Regions from separate parts of the Homo sapiens genome. Here regions 1 and 2 are each linked to region 3. Evidence: promoter capture Hi-C in human tissues and cell types (Jung and others, 2019). All regions are on one chromosome and are shown on one strand. The core of a region is centred on a gene start or on the middle of the fragment in contact, and the rest is flanking DNA. Distances in the headings are between cores, read along the strand shown. Region 1 holds the start of RND1 (Rho family GTPase 1). Region 2 overlaps DDX23 (DEAD-box helicase 23). Region 3 holds the start of PRKAG1 (protein kinase AMP-activated non-catalytic subunit gamma 1).

Region 1 (3,650 bases), core at 565-3,064, 150 kb after region 3:
GGCCCCATCAGTCAGGGCTGTTAAGAAGTTATGAAGCTCGGCTGGGCGCGGTGGCTCACGCCTGTAATCCCAGCACTTTGGGAGGCCGATGTGGGTGGATCACTTAAGGTCAGGAGTTTGAGACCAGCCTGACCAATATGGTGAAACCCTGTCTCTACTGAAAATACAAAAATTAGCCAGGCATGGTGACGTGCGCCTGTAGTCTCAGCTACTCGGGAGGCTGAGACAGGAGAATTGCTTGAACCCGGGAGGCAGAGGTTGCAGTGAACTGAGATCAAGCCACTGCACTCCAGCCCGGGTAACAGAGCGAGACTCCATCTCAAAAAAAAAAAAAAAAAAAATTTATGTAGTTCATCTCAACCTTAGATTGTCCTCCAGCTTCTAATCCCAAAATCCTGGGCCCAGTCTGGACTTTAACCAGGTGACACACATTAGTGCGTCAGTTTCAGTGGGCGTTAACATGGAACTGGACCTGTGCCTGATTCATCCAGGAAGCTGAGCCTAGGCCGCAGAACAAACACCCCTAAGCAGCTTCTGCTAGGCATGGGTGAGAGGCTGTCTGGCCAAACAGTGACTGTGTTTGCTTTGTCTTCTTCCTCTCTCCCACCCCCACTTGCCAGAGTCCCTCATTTCTCTCTGCCCATCACTGGGTCAGGTGCTGTGTGTTTTTTTTATGGATGACTCTAGAAAGTTTTCTCTTTCTCTTTCTCTCTCTCTGTCTTTGGTGGTGAAGGTGATTCTTGAAGAAGAGAAGGCTTTAAAAGGGGCACAGGCCGGGCACGGTGGCTGACGCCTATAATCCCAGCACTTTGGGAGGCCAAGGCGGGCGGATCGCCTGAGGTCGGGAGTTCGAGACCAGCCTGACCAACATGGAGAAACCCCGTCTCTACTAAAAATACAACATTAGCTGGGCATGGTGGTGCATGCCTGTAATCCCAGCTACTCGGGAGGCTGAGGCAGGAGAATCGCTTGAATCCGGGAGATGGAGGTTGCAGTGAGCTGAGATCGTGCCATTGCACTCCAGCCTGGGCAACAAGAGCGAAACTCCATCTCAAAATAAATAAATAAATAAATAAATAAATAAATAAATAAATAAATAAATAAATAAAAGAGGTACAGCAGGAGCTGATATTGGGAGGGGAAATAAAGGGAAGTAAGAACTGGTTTGGATGGGAATTAGAAAAAACAAAAAAGTCAGACATCAGGCCAGGCGCTGTGGCTCATGTCTGTAGTCCCAGCACTTTGGGAGGCTGAGACAGGCGGATTGCTTGAGCCCAGAAGTTCAAGACCAGCCTGGATAACATGGTGAGACCCCTGTCTCTATTTAAAACAAAAGATGTAAGGAAAAAAAAGAAAAAAAATGTCAGAGAAGTTCTGGGCCACCTCCCCCATCCCCTACTCCTCCAAAACACACACACACACACACACCTGTCTATAGTCTAAGCAGGTCCTGCTTTTGTAACCCACCCGGGACAGTCCCTGCAACTCCAGCCTGACCTCACTTCCTGCTTCCATAGCTAGTTTGTTTTTCTGACACTTATTGGTAGACACTCCAGATCATTTCATTTTGCTTCCAGTACCCTTTCCACTTCCTAATACAAATGCAAAACAACCTGGGAATCCCCTTTCAGGGGGAAACAACGGTGCAGCTTTAAGAGAAAGAGAAGGGAGGAAGGGGGCGCTGACTCAGATCCTCAGATCCATTGGCTGCTGGAGGGAATCCCACCTCAGGGATTGGGCGTAACAGAGTCCGCCTCCTCTTGTGATTGGCTCAGCCAGAAAAATAAAAGGCGGCTGTGCCGGCCTCCTCCTCAGTTGGAGGGAGGCAGGGAATCTGGCTTGATTGGCGTGCTGAGACGCACCTGGCGCAACCCTCCCTTCTGAATCGAAGTTCAAGTCCCGCGGACACTGCAACCATGAAGGAGAGACGGGCCCCCCAGCCAGTCGTGGCCAGATGTAAGCTCGTTCTGGTCGGGGACGTGCAGTGTGGGAAGACCGCGATGTTGCAAGTGTTAGCGAAGGATTGCTATCCAGAGGTGAGCTGCCCGCCCGCCCGCTGGCCGGCTTTTCTCCCTGCCTGCCCGCCTTGGGGTAGATTTCCACCTGCTCAGGAGACGTGGCTCCCCCAGCCCCAGCCCATCCTCAGCCGCTTTCTGAGGCTTTACCATCCTCAGCTGCTTTTTGGCTGGAGGACTGCCCTGCCTTAGCTTCCCCTGAGACCTGTTCCACTTCTGCCGCCCCGCTGGCTCCTCCTCACCTCTTCACCCAGAGGACCCATCAGATCCCCTCCACCTTCCTGCGTCCCTGGAGTCTGCTCTCAGGTGAGGGCACTGGAGGCATTTGAAAGTCTGGGGTTTCTTCTTGACGTAATCCCTGCCTATCCGCTCACCTGCTCCTCAAAGGCTCTATGCCTGTGCCTTCAGGCAGGCTTCTGCAGCCCCTCTGTTCACCTGGCCGGGAGGGGTTTGAGAGGAGATGAGCTAGGATTGGCTTTGGCCTGTGGCTCTCTCAAATTGGGAAACACAAATCTGGGGATGGGAGGAATCTGTGTGTGTGTGTGTCCCTGATCGCCTAGGATATGGGGGGCTTACCCCTGGTGTGGTGGTGTGGGGGGGTGTCATTCACATTTCTCACTGCTGCAGAGCAAAGTGCCTGGTCCTCCACAGTCCCTTCCCTCCTGCCCCAGGCATCTCCTCTGGTTTCTTGTCTCCTGTGACTTTACTGTCTCTCTGGTGAGTGCGTGTGTAGCCAGCACTAACCAGGGGATCTGAGGGTAGGGGTGCATGGGGTGAATGTTTCCTCTCTTTTCACAGACCTATGTGCCCACCGTGTTCGAAAATTACACAGCCTGTTTGGAGACAGAGGAACAGAGGGTGGAGCTTAGTCTCTGGGATACCTCAGGTAAGAATTCTGCTCCAAATACCCCTTTCCCACCCCTACTGGTCTGCTGTGTAGCTGCTGTCTTTTAGAAATTGTTTTCCCCTTTGGTGGGGAGAAGTGAAAAAAGAGGATCTGAAGACTCATTAGTTGTGGGGAGGGCTGACAGTTGGTGGACTCAGTTGCATGGTCCAAGGGTGCAGAGTGGGTGAACCCCAGGAGCCACTCTCTTCCCTGGGTCTGGTTCCACCCTTTAGAGGGCTGGGATGGTGAGGTGAAGGGACCCATGAATAGTCCTGGGGGTGGGCAGTAAAACAGGACTTCTCCATTTCCATTCCCTACCACCCAACATGCACGCGTACACACATGCACACACACGCGCGCGCGCGCACACACACACACACACACACACACACACACACCTTTTACTTCCCCAGAGCAAAGCCAAATAAGAGGCAAGAGGCAGTGCTGCTGGAGGCAGCGTGGTTGGGGCGGAGAGACAAGTCTGCTTTGGGGAAAGGTTGCTCAGACTCAGTTTTGTCTCCTGCATTCCATCTTGGGCCACTGCTGTCCTCCTGCCGCAGCTCAGCCCCACTCGTCACACCGCTGCAGCTCGGGGATGAAGCAATGCATCATCGATGTTTTGGAAGTTGGGGGAGATGGCTTAATATAGGGCATAGTCAGTTGTGAATAGTGGCCGGCAGGGCAGAGGGGAGGTTGGCTCTGACTGTTTTCCCTCTACTGGGGTGAGGTAGAATATGCCCTGTCTCTCT
Region 2 (3,640 bases), core at 844-3,343, 170 kb after region 3:
TTATAACGTAATCCAGATCTCAAAGTTAAACTTTTTTCTCCATTGAGCTTTCTTTATGAGCTCAAGAAAATTTATCTCTCTCAGACGTATGAGTGCTAACTGATCCTAGTGGGTTGGCAGACCTAATAAACTTCAAAGTAAGCAATATAGGATGTTTCTAGAAATAGTTGGTACACTGTTCATACACTAACACTTCTTTTAATACTCTTTTGTAGTCTAATTACAAAAACATGGTATATTCACTGTACATATTTAGAAATGAATATATAAAAAGGAATCGACCAGGCACTGTGGCTCACGCCTGTAATCTCAGCCTTTTAGAGGCTGAGGCAGGAGGATTGCTTGAGGTCAGGAATTTAAGACCAGCCTGGGCAGCATAGTGAGACCCTGTCTATAAAAAAAATAAATTAGCTAGGCAAGGCAGGAGGATGGCTTGAGCCCAGGAAGTTGAAGCTGCAGTGACCTATGATTGCACCACTGCACTCCAGCCTGGGTGACAGAGTGAGACTCTGAAAGGAATTACAGGGAGACAATATAGTGAGTAACGATGGCCTGTGGAGCCAGACTGCCTGCAACTCTGCCACTACCTGTCTGCCCTCAGACAAGTTCCTTTATATACCTGAGCTCCACCGTTCTCATCTGTACGGTAGACATACTAATATATCCACCTCATAGGGTTGTTTTGAGGGTAATTGAATTATATATAAGCAGTTTAGAGCAGTGCCTAGTACATTGTAAGTACTCTTCCTACTCATTACAGATGGCAGGAGAGCTGGCTGACAAAAAGGACCGTGATGCATCACCTTCCAAGGAGGAAAGGAAGCGATCACGGACTCCTGACAGAGAGCGGGATAGAGACCGGGACCGGAAGTCTTCCCCATCTAAAGATAGAAAGCGGCATCGTTCAAGGGATAGACGTCGAGGAGGCAGCCGTTCTCGCTCTCGTTCCCGTTCCAAATCTGCAGAAAGGTAAAGTAACTTTGTATGTTATTACATGGGAAGGGAGAGTACGTTTCAGATTTCTTCCTTCTTGGTTCTTCTGATGCCTCCAGTATTAGGCATCTACTTTTTATTTTTATTTTTTGAGACAGAGTCTCGCTCTGTTTGTTACCCAGACTGGAGTGCAGTGGTGCGATCTCAGCTCACTGCAAGCTCCGCCTCGCAGGTTCACGCCATTCTCCTGCCTCTGCCTCCTGAGTGCGTAGCTGGGACTACAGGCGCCCGACACCATGCCCGGCTAATGTTTTTGTATTTTTAGTAGAGATGAGGTTTCACCGTGTTAGCCAGGATGGTCTCGATCTCCTGACGTGATCTGCCTGCTTCAGCCTCCCCAAGTGCTGAGATTATAGGCGTGAGCCACCGCGCCTGGCCTTTTTTTTTTTTTTTTTAAAAGATGGAGTTTCACTCTTGTTTCCCAGGCTGGAGTGCAATGGCACGATCTCGGCTCACTGCAACCTCTGCCTCCCAGGTTCAAGCAATTCTCCTGCCTCAGCCTCCCGAATAGCTGGGATTACAGGCATGTGCCACCACACCTGGCTAATTTTGTACTTTTAGTAGAGACGGGGTTTCTCCACGTTGGTCAGGCTGATCTCAATCTTCCGACCTCAGGTGATCCACCCACCTCAGCTTCCCAAAGTGCTGGGATTACGGGCGTGAGCCACCACGCCCGGCTAGGCATCTACTTTTTGTACATTAATCTACTCCTAGCCCAGTTGGACCTGCAGGTGTTTTCAGTTTTCCTCAGTGACCCAACTCTTAAAAGTTGAGAGGGGGCCGGGCGCGGTTGGTTCACGCCTGTAATCCCAGCACTTTGGGAGGCCGAGGCAGGTGGATCACGAGGTCAGGAGATCGAGACCATCCTGGCTAACACAGTGATACCTGATCTCTACTAAAAATAAAAAAAAAAAAAGTTGAGAGGGAACTAGTAAGGTGAAGGTCCGGGTTATCAAGGAAGGTTCATCTGTGGCCGGGCGCGGTGGCTCATACCTATAATCCCAGCACTTTGGGAGGCCGAGGTAGGTGGATTACTTGAGGTGAGGAGTTTGAGAGCAGCCTGGCCAACATGGCAAAACCCCGTCTCTACTAAAAATACAAAAATTAGCCAGGCATGGTGGTGCACATCTGTAATCCCAGCTACTCGGGAGGCTGAGGCATGACAATTCCTTGAACTCGGGAGGCAGAGGCTGCAGTGAGCCGAGATCACACCACTGCACTCCAGCCTGGGCGTGAGAGTGAGACTCCATCTCAAAAAAATAAAAAAGGAAGGTTCATCTGTTCACATAGTCCGTGACCTGTCATTGCCGTTAATATTTAACAGTACATCTCTGATCTATAAAAGCTTCTTAGAATTCCCTCGTTATTTCCGTGAGAGATACATTCTCTAATTTGTAAAACATTACTTTGGGACGAGAGTATAGGAACTTTCTCAGGGCTGCAGTGAAGCAAGATACTTTGGAAATACCAAGTGAACTCTTAAATTTGCGGTCTTCCAGAGAACGACGGCACAAAGAACGAGAACGAGATAAGGAGCGGGATCGGAATAAGAAGGACCGAGATCGAGACAAGGATGGGCACAGACGGGACAAGGACCGTAAACGATCCAGGTACATGAAGGAATGAGAGGGGGCTTTAGGGGAATGCTCCCATTTCTTCTCTGCACCTGAGTTTGCTCAGCTTCTTATGAAAGTAGATTTCTCGCCAGGCGTGGTGGCTCACGCCTGTAATCCCAGCACTTTGGGAGGCTGAGGCTGGTGGATCACGAAGTCAGGAGATCGAGACCATCCTGGCTAACATGGTGAAACCCCGTCTCTACTAAATATACAAAAAATTAGCCGGGCGTGGTGGCGGGTGCCTGTAGTCCCAGCTACTCAGGAGGCTGAGGTAGGAGAATGGCGTGAACCCGGGAGGCGGAGCCTGCAGTGAGTCGAGATCACGCCACTGCACTCCAGCCTGGGCGACAGAGCAAGACTCTGTCTCAAAAAAAAAAAAAAAAAAAGAAAGAAAGAAAGTAGATTTCTCTTAACAGATTCTGTTGGTAGTTATTACAGAGCTCTCTTTCTTATTTATTTTTATTTATTTTTTTGAGGCAGGGTCTCTTTTGCCCAGGCTGGAGTGCAGTGGTGTGATCACAACTTACTGCAGCCTTGACTCCCCCAGGCTTAGGTGATCCACCCACCTCAGCCTCCTGAGTAGCTGGACTACAGGCATCTGCCACCAGATTTTGTTTTTTTTGGGTTTTTTTTTTTTTAATTGATCATTCTTGGGTGTTTCTTGCAGAGGGGGATTTGGCAGGGTCACAGGACAATAGTGGAGGGAAGGTCAGCAGATAAACAAGTGAACAAAGGTCTCTGGTTTTCCTAGGCAGAGGACCCTGCGGCCTTCCGCAGTGTTTGTGTCCCTGGGTACTTGAGATTAGGGAGTGGTGATGACTCTTAACGAGCATGCTGCCTTCAAGCATCTGTTTAACAAAGCACATCTTGCACCACCCTTAATCCATTCAACCCTGAGTGGACACAGCACATGTTTCAGAGAGCACAGGGTTGGGGGTAAGGTCACAGATCAACAGGATCCCAAGGCAGAAGAATTTTTCTTAGTACAGAACAAAATGAAAAGTCTCCCATGTCTACCTCTTTCTACACAG
Region 3 (3,727 bases), core at 466-2,965:
CCCCACCCCCCGGGGAGAGCAAATGTAAAACTACTAATTTTTGTGCTTTATATATTCTATATAAATATATCTATTTTCTTTTTACAAAACCAGTTTATAAATGGTAGGGGGGTGTGGGGCGGACACATGGAGCTCCCCTTGTGGGGGGGCCCCCTCCATTACCCGACCTACCGCCCTTTTCCTCACCCCCCACCCCACTCCCCACCCCCTGGCTGTGACTGCTGTAAGATGGGGGTATAGAGGCTGGGCAATTCCCACCCCCTGTTGTATAGTTGGACTATGTTATAACGCACAAAAGAGAGCTGACCCCAGGGGGAGCCAGAGGGTGATGGGTTCCTTGCCTCCCTTTCCTTCCCCTTTCTGCCCAAGCTTGTGCTGCAGTTGAACCTCTTCCTGGGGGTGGGAGTAGGTAAGGGGTGGGTGAGGCCCCAAACCCCTCTCTGGTAGGGAACCGTGGGGATGAAGATGAAGCTTATATGCAGTTCTCTTCTAGGGGCTGTGGGCAAAGGGCATTTTGTAATTAATATTTTCAAGAATCAGATGTCTGGAGTGTAGGGGTGGGCTTGGTGGTGGTGGACGGGCGGGCCTGCTGGAGGGGGAGCTTGGTCGCTGTTGTGATTTTAGGTTTGTTTTTGTTTTGTTTTGAATTTGGGGGGTTGTGGATTGTTGGGGGTAGGGAGATTTTTTTTTTTTAAAGCTGCTTCCTCAACTGTTTCAAGCTGCAAATGTTTAAGAGAATAACAGCCCCCACTCCCACAGGAACCGCTGTAATTAAATCAGACAGTAGGAAGACTGGGCTGCTGCCCTCAAAGCCACAGCCCTTGGATGTTCCTTTTCCGAGAGCAGAAGGTCTAGGCTACAGGGAGGGGGAGATTGGCTCCCGTGAGTCAGGCTGTGTTTGGGGCTTGGGCCCTGGGATTGGGAAAAGGGGATGGGGCAGACTTTGTAAGCATATGCTAGGTATCCGATAGTCCTGTAGAATTTAGTGAAGAAACCTTATACAGTTTTTAATTTTTATATAAACTATAACTCAGACCCAAGCTACAAGGTTGGAATTTTGGTTGGTTTTTTTTTTAAGTACCCTGCCTGTATAATTGCATCAGAATCCCCCACCCCACCCCCCGCCCCCGTGTTTGTATTTTGGGTTGGTTTACACTCGCACATACTCAGTTTTCAGTTTTCCCCTTTACAGTCTTCTCCCCTCACCTCCAGGACCCTCCCCCTTTTTAAAAAATAAATCGCTGACAAGTGTGAATCCCGTGAAGACTTTATTTTGTGTTGTGTGTATCCTGTACAGCAAGGTTGGTCCTTCGTAACAACGGATGAAATGGTTCCCTTTTTTAAAGCGCCCTCTCTCCCTCCACCCTCAGCGCCCCTGTCCTTGGCATGTTTTGTATCAGCGATCATTCTGAACTGTACATATTTATGTTGCGAGAGGCAAAGGGCAAGTTTTGGATTTTGCTTCTTCCAAGTTTGTTTTTAAACGACAAATAAAAAAAGAACATTTTAAATACAAGCGGCTCCGTCCCATGACCCTCGCCGTCAGCCGGATCCGTGCGGTCCGCGAGGACCCGGGGGAGGGCGGTTACCGAGGCCCGCCACCGCCGGAAGGGTGGGTTCCTTGCCTTCCGCCCCAGTCTGGCGACTGCCATGACGTGGGCGGAAGTGGCGTCGCCGCACCGGATGTGGGGCGGGGCCTGCCCCAAGAGAGTTTCCTAAAGCGAGGAAACCAAGCCGGGCGCCTCTTGCAATGGAGACGGTGAGGAGTGCAGGAGGGCGGTCGGGGGCGCTGTGGAGCCTAAGACACCCCCCCAACCCTTAGGAGACCGGGAGGGCCGGGCAGGGGCTGGCGCTGGTGTCTAGCAAACAAAAAGCAGCCGGGTGTCTGCCCTATCCCGTGACCCTGTTCCTCCGCTTCTTCGTTGGGCGCATCTCCTGGAACTGGGCCGCGTCCCCGCCGCCTTTCCGTACGCGGTACCCTTAGCCCAAGCAGGCAGTGACTCCTGGCTCCCTCCTTGGGGCCCACGTATGCCGTGGCAATCTCGGGCCTCCTTTCCTATTGGCACCTCAAGCCCTTTTAGAGGTTTGAGAGCGCAGGGTTGTGAGCCGGCTTTGCTGGGTGAGGCACGGGGCGTCCAGAGGGATCTCCGCTTGCAGGTAGCTCCTGGACCTCGATGGTCTTTCTGTGATCCCTGCAATCCCCGGCAGGAGGACATCTGAAGATCTTTATACTGCGTCCAGTGAAGTCACATTCCCTTAATAAGACCGAGAATTGAGGTTTGCTTGAAAGAGGAAATCTTGCAGTGTTAGAGGCCGATGTGTCCCTGGACAATTTTAGGTCATGGCCCGCTCTGCGACTCTAAGCAGGGGTTTTGGCATAGCTCATTCTTGGCGAGCAGGCATTGACCAATTGTGGCAGGGCCCTGTCACCCTCCCACAGATGCTGCGGGTTGCCTGCTACATGTTTGCACCCACCCTCACTCTCAGGAGTCTTTTTCTAGCGCTCTGTAACCCCTCCCATACACTTCCCTCTCCACAGTTTTTAACCATGTGTCTTCTTTCAGGCAGAGTAACTCTTTCCATCTTGGTTTTTATCATCTGCTACTGTAGTTACGAAAGGACTGCAGGTTCACTTTGCTTTGGATTACATGCCCAGAGTAATTCTTTGCCACACCGTTTCTCTGCTCACAGAGAGGTTGTTTCTTTCAGGTTTTCAAAAAGAAAACCGACCAAAGTACTAAAATGATTCGCAGTTGGTCTCCCAGGCAAGGGAGCCAATTCTGACTAATCAGGATAATCTTAAACAAAAATAAGGAGTCTAATTCCATTAAATTTAAAATGACATGTCATATTCTACTTACTTGTAAATGTATTATGGTTTACAAAGCATTTTTATATAGATTTTCTAATTTAGCCTTTACACTTTATGTACTGGATTAGGCTCTGGGGTAGAAGTTAAAAAGAGGAAAAAGAAAACTCAGCCAGGTGTGGTGGCTCACGCCTGTAATGCCAGTACTTTGGGAGGCCAAGGCAAGTGGATTGCTTGAGCTCAGGAGTTCAGCATCAGCCTGGGCAACATGATGAAAGCCTGTCTCGACAGAAACAAAAATACAAAAATTACCCAGGCGTGGTGGTGGTGGTGTGTGCCTGTAGTCCCAGCTACTCGGGAGGCTCAGGTGGGAGGATCGCTTGATCCAAAGAGGTGGAGGCTGGAGTGAGCTGAGATCATGCCACTGCACTCCAGTCTGAGTGACACAGTGAGATCCTGTCTCCAAAAAAAAAGAAAAGAAAGAAAACTCCTGCTTTGAAAATGTTCAGCCTAACTGGAGTGATGGTGAGGGCAAGCCAGCAACAGCTGTTATTTAAAGGTAGACTATAATAAATGCTGTCATCAATATGAAAACAGAGGACTGTGACAGAATAGCTGAGAGAAAAATTACTTTGGACCTAGGAGAGGGCACTGCAAATTGAGAGAACAGTGTGAGCAAGGGCACTGAAATTGGGGTATGTAGAGAACTGGGGGTGAGCCAGCGGCATGATGTTGCTGGCTTTGGATTTTGGTCACAGTGGGAGAAAAGACTGGAAAAGCAGGCTAAGATCAGGTTGAAGGTATTACACACCATGCTAAATTTGAACTTTGTTTTGTAATAGGGGACCCATGGAAGATTTATGAGCAAGTCAGTGAATGTCCTTTAGGAATGTTCATAGCAGCTTTCTGTACATGGAC

The links. The method cuts DNA at HindIII sites, captures the fragments that hold promoters and counts their contacts. A contact is called where the count stands out against the background at its distance.
Region 1: a contact is called between the fragment with the promoter of RND1 here and the fragment with the promoter of PRKAG1 in region 3, in 1 of the 25 tissues and cell types used here (IMR-90 fibroblasts).
Region 2: a contact is called between a fragment that was not itself captured here and the fragment with the promoter of PRKAG1 in region 3, in 2 of the 25 tissues and cell types used here (H1 embryonic stem cells and lymphoblastoid cells).

Annotation. Positions count from the first base shown.
Region 1 is chr12:48,864,034-48,867,683 of GRCh38, reverse strand. It overlaps RND1 (Rho family GTPase 1), which reads left to right and starts at 1,814. Exons shown (of 5, transcript NM_014470.4): 1 at 1,814-2,036; 2 at 2,814-2,901. The coding sequence starts at 1,917. RefSeq lists enhancers at 1,491-1,620, 1,881-2,000. The HindIII fragment of the contact is 19,361 bases long and covers 1-3,650 here.
Region 2 is chr12:48,842,903-48,846,542 of GRCh38, reverse strand. It overlaps DDX23 (DEAD-box helicase 23), which reads left to right. Exons shown (of 17, transcript NM_004818.3): 2 at 761-969; 3 at 2,493-2,603. The coding sequence starts at 761. Among named protein-coding and RNA genes, the nearest start is that of DDX23, 7.4 kb to the left of the region's middle. The HindIII fragment of the contact is 6,479 bases long and covers 1-3,640 here.
Region 3 is chr12:49,016,764-49,020,490 of GRCh38, reverse strand. PRKAG1 (protein kinase AMP-activated non-catalytic subunit gamma 1) reads left to right here and starts at 1,715. Exons shown (of 12, transcript NM_002733.5): 1 at 1,715-1,759. The coding sequence starts at 1,751. KMT2D (lysine methyltransferase 2D) reads left to right here. Exons shown (of 55, transcript NM_003482.4): 55 at 1-1,513. It overlaps DDN-AS1 (DDN and PRKAG1 antisense RNA 1), which reads right to left. Exons shown (of 2, transcript NR_147179.1): 2 at 1,251-2,255. RefSeq lists enhancers at 1,312-1,511, 2,084-2,674. The HindIII fragment of the contact is 13,264 bases long and covers 1-3,727 here.